Regions from separate parts of the Homo sapiens genome. Here region 1 is linked to region 2. The links are contacts of gene promoters, found by promoter capture Hi-C in human tissues and cell types (Jung and others, 2019). All regions are on one chromosome and are shown on one strand. Each heading gives the region's core, a stretch centred on a gene start or on the middle of the fragment in contact. The rest is flanking DNA. Distances are from core to core; before and after follow the strand shown. Region 1 overlaps SNX19 (sorting nexin 19). Region 2 holds the start of ZBTB44 (zinc finger and BTB domain containing 44).

Region 1 (3,073 bases), core at 11-2,510, 580 kb before region 2:
TGAGAAATGCTGTGTAGACTATTAGTTCTTTAAGGACCGGAACTAGCTTTGTCTCCCCAGCAGCTTATACAGGGCCTGGACATAGTAGGTACTCATTAAATATTGAATAAAGAAATAAACATTTCCCTTCCCAGTACCTTTACACTTGAAAGTATAGTCTCTTTAGTTTTATTCTGTCACCTCTGGATGTCACTAATTAGGCCTTCATTTCTCTTCTTCTTTTTTTGGACTTCCCTTTGCTAATCTTCTAAGTGGTTTAAAAAAACAAAATGAGAAGATCCCAAAACTAGCTAGTGTGTGATCTAATATGACCCCTTCTCCTTGAGGTCATTTACATGACAGATTGGTTTCAGAACACGAGAAATTATTCAGTATGAGGATAAAAGTATAGATGAGTTAGGAGAAATTCAAAAAAGATTGAGATCCTTATATAAAAGGGGTAGGAAAAAGTTGACCTGAAGTTTGAATAACTCAGAGTGCTCAAGGGTTTGGGCTAGTCCAGATAAAGGAGAAATACCTATATTCTGGGAGTTAGAGAATGATCACAGAAGTACTTTTTCATGTGGCCGGGGCCCTGGGAGATCTAAGGCAGAAAAGTTAAATACGAGCGAAGCAAGCTCCAGCTGCGTGGCAGACATGGAAAAGACAGGGCTCATTTTAGAGTTCAGAGCAGAGGCTGTGAGACTTCTTTCTTTTTCATTTTTCATATATTGAGGATAAAATGTCAATATATGAAATATCAGTGAGATGGGATTTCATTCTGTCGCCCAGGCTGGAGTGCAGTGGCACTGCAATCATAGCTCACTGTAACCTCCTGGGCTCAAGCCATCCTCCCACCTCAGCCTCCCAGGTAGCTAGGACTACAGGCACACACCACCGTGCTTGGCTAATTTTTTAAATTTTTTGGTTGAGATGGGGTCTCACTATGTTGCCCAGGCAAGTTCCTCACCTTTCCATTCCTGTCCCTGACACTCCCCAACTACAACCACAACTCCAGTGAGCTGGGTAAAGTCTGGTGAATGCAGACTAGCAAAACCCAAATGTAGCTCATGCCATAAAGGAAATGAGGGAGAGGGCTTACAGCTGAATTTCCCTAGACTTTCTCCTCTTTTCACATTCTGACTTTTTGTTTTTTGGTTTTGTCTTATTCTGTTTTATGGAAAAGCATCACTATTGTGATGGGAAAAGTGGGAAAACTCTGAATATATTTGGTGAATTTGAATGAAGCCACTGTGAATATTGGGCAAGAACAGCATTTTGCGGCTAGTTACTTTTGAAAAACTTGTTGTAACTATGGCCTGTTATCTTTGGTTCATTGTACATATTTCCAGGTGAAGATGTTTTATACATGTTCAGTTACCTCATATCCCTTCCTGTCAACAAGTTCTTATATCTAAGAATACAACTTTATCCTTAGCCCATTTGGTTTTGTATTAGCTGCAATGAAAATAGGACCACATCTGGTTAGCAGTCTCCTCACCCAAGCTTCCACAGACTAGAATTAAATGAAGAATCTCATACTTCTCTGTTTGAGGCCATTCATGTATCCCTACAAATCATTTTTCCCATCTTTTTAATGACATTTTTGGCCCTCTTCTGAAGTACCTTATAGCTGGTTTCACAGTTTTCCTGAAGCCTCCTTAAGATAGGAAGCTAGAAGTCATGATATCTAAAGAAAGAACCGGTTCTTCCACTAGAGCTTCCAAAGATCTGGCACTGGTGGCCCATGGTCTCATACCTGGAAGCACCCTGTGCATTATAGACATGGAGCTAACACATTTTAGCATTCAGAGTGTAAACGTTGATAATCTCGTCAGCATCAGCACATTTGCTGTCCAGCAAATGTTTATCGAGAGTTGACTTAGTGCAAATACTGTACTGAACACTGTATGCACATGCTGTTCAAAAGCCACAGTTACTTTTGCACCAACTTAATACCATTTAATTCCTCCAAGTCCTGCGAAAGCGGTACTATGACCCTCATTTTAAAGACAAGGAAACTAAGGTTTACAAAGAATGTGGGTTATCTAGTCAAAATCACAGGGTTAATAAATATCACAAGCAGAATTTGAACCCAGGTTTTTCTGATTTATAGCTGTGATGATTGTCTAAATTTCAGGATCAGATCTTTGCCCTGCAATTCAGCAGGATAAAAGCCAACCCAAAAATCTCTGTCTCCAAGTACTGGAGATTATCAGGCAGTTTGTAGAATCCAAACTGCATCTCCGTATCTACACACTTGCAGCTAACCTAAGGGCAGTGCTGCAGTCTAAAGACAGCCCATGTTACTATCCCTGGGACAGTTGCAGGTTTTAATTTTAAAAAGTGGTGTATGCATTGCTGCATGCTTCAGCTTTATTTGCTTTGGTAAGCCAATATGCTGGAAACTTGACATCTCCAGAGCTGCAGCACCTCTCCACTGTACCCCCTGCATCTCCCACAAGAGGCATGATATGAGGTCCCGTTGCCTCCCATCCCCATGACTGCTGCCTAGGAGGCTACATGTTTGTCCTCCCTGAAACCACGGGTAGCTGAGCCATATGCTTTTGCAGGGTACTTGGGTTCTCTTCCTTTAAGTTCCGTGCTTAAAAGAGCAGGATAGTTGGTGTTGGTGCCACACGTGGTACTGCCACTTCTCTAGTTATTTAGAACTCACTGCAGTTTGACCATCAGGGATGCTGTAGTCACCAGATTTGAGTGCATCTCCTCCTTAAAATGTCCTCATGTTCCAACCTCCAGTATTATTATCCCCAAGCAGGCAAGTTTATTCCTCTGCTTCCAACTTTGTATACCCATCTTGCAACTTTAAAAGACCTGTGTACATTACTGCCTTGGACGCCATAGACTTCTGTCAAATTATAAGCACACTCTCTATCCTGCAAAGGAAAAAAAAAAAACAGAGTAAGTTCGACCTCATAACCCCTCCTTCTAAGCCAAAGTTGGAAGAGCTCTGATCTGAGCCAGGCTTATAAATCTCCGTTGATTGTTGATGATGTGGAGAGAAGTGGGAGGGGAGCTGAAGAGAAGTTAGATGCCCAAAAAAGGCATTGTTAAGTCAAAGGGAAGTCTTGCA
Region 2 (2,980 bases), core at 382-2,881:
CCACCCTGATTCTTGTCCAGTTGCTTACCACCTACATACATTCTCACACATTCCTCACCAGGGCCCCAGCTCATGCCCTTTCCTGAGCCCTGCTCTGTGGCCGCCAGTCCTCTCCCAGGTAAGCATTCCGCCTTCTTTCCCTTCCCCTCTTCAAAACTTAGTGCAAAAGTTTCTGGGCCTAGTTCGCATCTTTCTGATTTTTCTCATCTCTGAAATGGGAATAATAAGAATGATAGTGGGAATAATAATAGAAACCTGTGATAAAACCTGTGAATTACAGTTGCCGTAAGGATTAGATAACATTATACATGCTTGAAAACTTGTTGGAAACTGCGAAGGACTATAAAAACAGAAGTTGTTTTTATTGCCTTTATTCCTAAAGAAGATTGCAAGTGTCAGGGTGTTCAGGTGCTTGGCTGCTTGTCTCTCAGAGTGAATTAATGTGAGATGTTGCCAAGTGTTTCAAAAGGAAAATCCACTCTACTTCAGCGGGACGTCCACCCACCTTGCACAAAACCCTCTGGAAAGAAGTCTTTCGGTTTGCAAACTGGAGGCGTGGGAAAACAGAAAGCGCCCAAGGAGCACCTGCCCGCACCCCGCCCGCCCCCAGGCACCTGGGGCGCTGCCGCCTGCAGTCCCGGGAACCCCTATGACCTCCGGGGGCGGTGTGGAGAGCGCTCGCCCGCCTGGCCAGGGGAAGCCAAGACTTAGGGCCCTAGGAGTTAACTAGGTTGATTGATTTTGCAGTTGACCAAGAACTTCAAAACCCCCCGGGCGGTACCGGTTACTTCGGGGAGGCCCGCACACTTCCTCCGGGAAGGCCAGGAAGTAAGTGATGGTGCAGTAAAAATGACAGATTCACGGTTGTGGAAGAAGTAGGGTATATTTTTGGAGCAGCTCTAGCTGTCCCTGTGTTGGAAGAACGAGAGGGACCTGGGAGTCCGTTTCTCCACTCATCTCAAGAACCGCACGTCCTGCCAGGTCACCGAGGCAAGTGCTAGAACGGAAGAGAGCAAGCACTGCGAGGAGGCCCGAGGAGCCACGCAATCCAGACACCCGCCGCATGTCGCAGTCCGCCCAGGACGGGGGCGCGGGCTCACCTGTCTGCGGGGCGGCCCTTGGCAGGCCTGTTTCCATGGGTGAACAATGGGCACCTTACCAACTAACCTCCCTCGCCGAAGAGGGGCTGAAGTGTTTCTATTTCGACCTCCCTACAAAAACTACCCGAGAAAATAGGAGTTATGTTTTTAGTTCGAAGAAAAAAATAATGCTATAAATGTGACTCCTGCGGAGAAATGCTTCTCAGGTGTGAGAGGGGAACTGGGTAAGAGGACGGCTTAGAGGAAGGACAAATGGGACAGGGCTTATGGGGCATGTGAATGTAAATCGGCACATGTGCGCACATATGCAAAAATACAGTGTCAAGACTCACGGCCTTTCTGGGTCACGCAGGCTCCACCGTCTAAGGAGACGGAGTCACCAACAGTACAAGTCCCGACGGCCAAGAGGGCCCATTTTCTGCGCTTGCGCAATCATCACGTTTCCTTCCCCGCCCCGAGCCCCGCCCCCGAGCGCGCTCCGCCCCGCCCCCTTCTCCTCCCCTTCCCCAGCCAGGCCGCCGGCGCAGAGCATTGTGGGACACAAACAAAGTGCCCCCAAACAGGCTGGAGTGAGCGGAGCGGCAACGGCGGCGGCGCCGGCCGCACGCGCGCGGCGGCGGCTCCCTCCCAACCTCCCCCTCCCCTCCCCTCAGTCCCCTTCCCCTTCCCCACCCCGCCCCGCTGGGAACACGCGAGCCGTCGCCGCGCTCCCCAAACAACCGCCTGCCCTCGGCCAACCGTCCCCAACGGTCGCCAGCGCGCGGCTCCCGGGCCCCCTCGCTCCTCCCCTCTGGCCCCTCCGAGCGCTGGGGGTGCTTCCCTCCCCGCCTCCTCGCACTCCCACTCGCGGGCACGCCGGTGGCTGTGCCGCCATGCCCCACCACAGGCTGCTCACGGGCCTAGGCGCGGCGGCCCGAGATAGGGGCCCCTGAGCCTCCCGGGGGAGGAGAGAGGCAGCGAGCCGCGCTCCGCCCCCTCCCCCCGGGCCGCCGCCGCCGCCGCCTCGCCGCCCCAGCCTGGCGGGAGAAGGAGGAGGAGCAGCAGGCCTCCGGGCCCGGCGCCGCCGCCCGCAGGTAACGGGGAGGGGAGGGCGGGCTCCGGTCGCGCGGGGGACGGCCCCTGCACGCTGCCCGTGGCTGACACCGCGTGGCCCCCACCTGGCGCCGAAGGGAGCGGAGAGCCGGGTCTGTCAGCCTAGTCCGCGCCGGGAGACACCCCACGGGATCCCCTCGGTGGCATTTAATCCTTCTGGGAGGAGACCGGCCTTGGGCCCCGCGGTCCCGGAGCAGTTACCCCGACCTTCCAGGGAGCTGCCCGTCCTTTGCACGCCCATTTGCCCAACACCCTAACCCGGAGCGGCCGGAGTGTTGCCACCTCTCACCTGGTCGAACCCGGGAGGCTCAGACCTGTTTTTTTTCCTCCTTTCCCCTTCTGCTTTTTCTCTGGTACAGAAAGAAAAAGATGGCACTTCTTTAAAAAAATATATATATATATATATACACACACACAAACACACACACACATACACACACACACACACCTCTTTTCCTTTCCTTCCTGAGGATCACTCTGCATCTAGTCGTTTTATTGCTGGCCTAATCAGAAAAAGGGGTTACCTCGAGAAATGACAGGTACGTTAGAACTGATTAAAAGGAAATTGCGTCCATGTGAGTTCTATGAATCCAAGCAGAATTTACAATAAAACCCCGTAATTGTGTGCTTTTTTTTGGAACTTACAAAAATGAAGACAAAAACTTAATTTCTTTTTCAGCGTGTAAGTAGATAATCTCTTGAAGTCAGGAAGAAATTCTCCATAACTTCCACTTATTTTCTTAATGCTTTATTTGGAGATCGGCTGATACCGGAAGCAAGCTGCACGA

Evidence for each region. Contacts are between HindIII fragments. The study calls those that stand out against the background at their distance.
Region 1: a fragment that was not itself captured here is called in contact with the fragment with the promoter of ZBTB44 in region 2 in 1 of the 25 tissues and cell types used here (spleen).

What each region holds. Positions count from the first base shown.
Region 1 is chr11:130,897,977-130,901,049 of GRCh38, reverse strand. The region is part of intron 8 of SNX19 (sorting nexin 19); the gene reads left to right. Among named protein-coding and RNA genes, the nearest start is that of SNX19, 17 kb to the left of the region's middle. The HindIII fragment of the contact is 3,464 bases long and covers 1-2,992 here.
Region 2 is chr11:130,313,568-130,316,547 of GRCh38, reverse strand. It overlaps ZBTB44 (zinc finger and BTB domain containing 44), which reads left to right and starts at 1,631. Exons shown (of 8, transcript NM_001301098.2): 1 at 1,631-2,173. It overlaps ZBTB44-DT (ZBTB44 divergent transcript), which reads right to left and starts at 1,555. Exons shown (of 7, transcript NR_148980.1): 1 at 1,433-1,555. RefSeq lists silencers at 538-597, 1,508-2,337 and enhancers at 898-997, 1,168-1,267, 2,428-2,477. The HindIII fragment of the contact is 15,077 bases long and covers 1-2,980 here.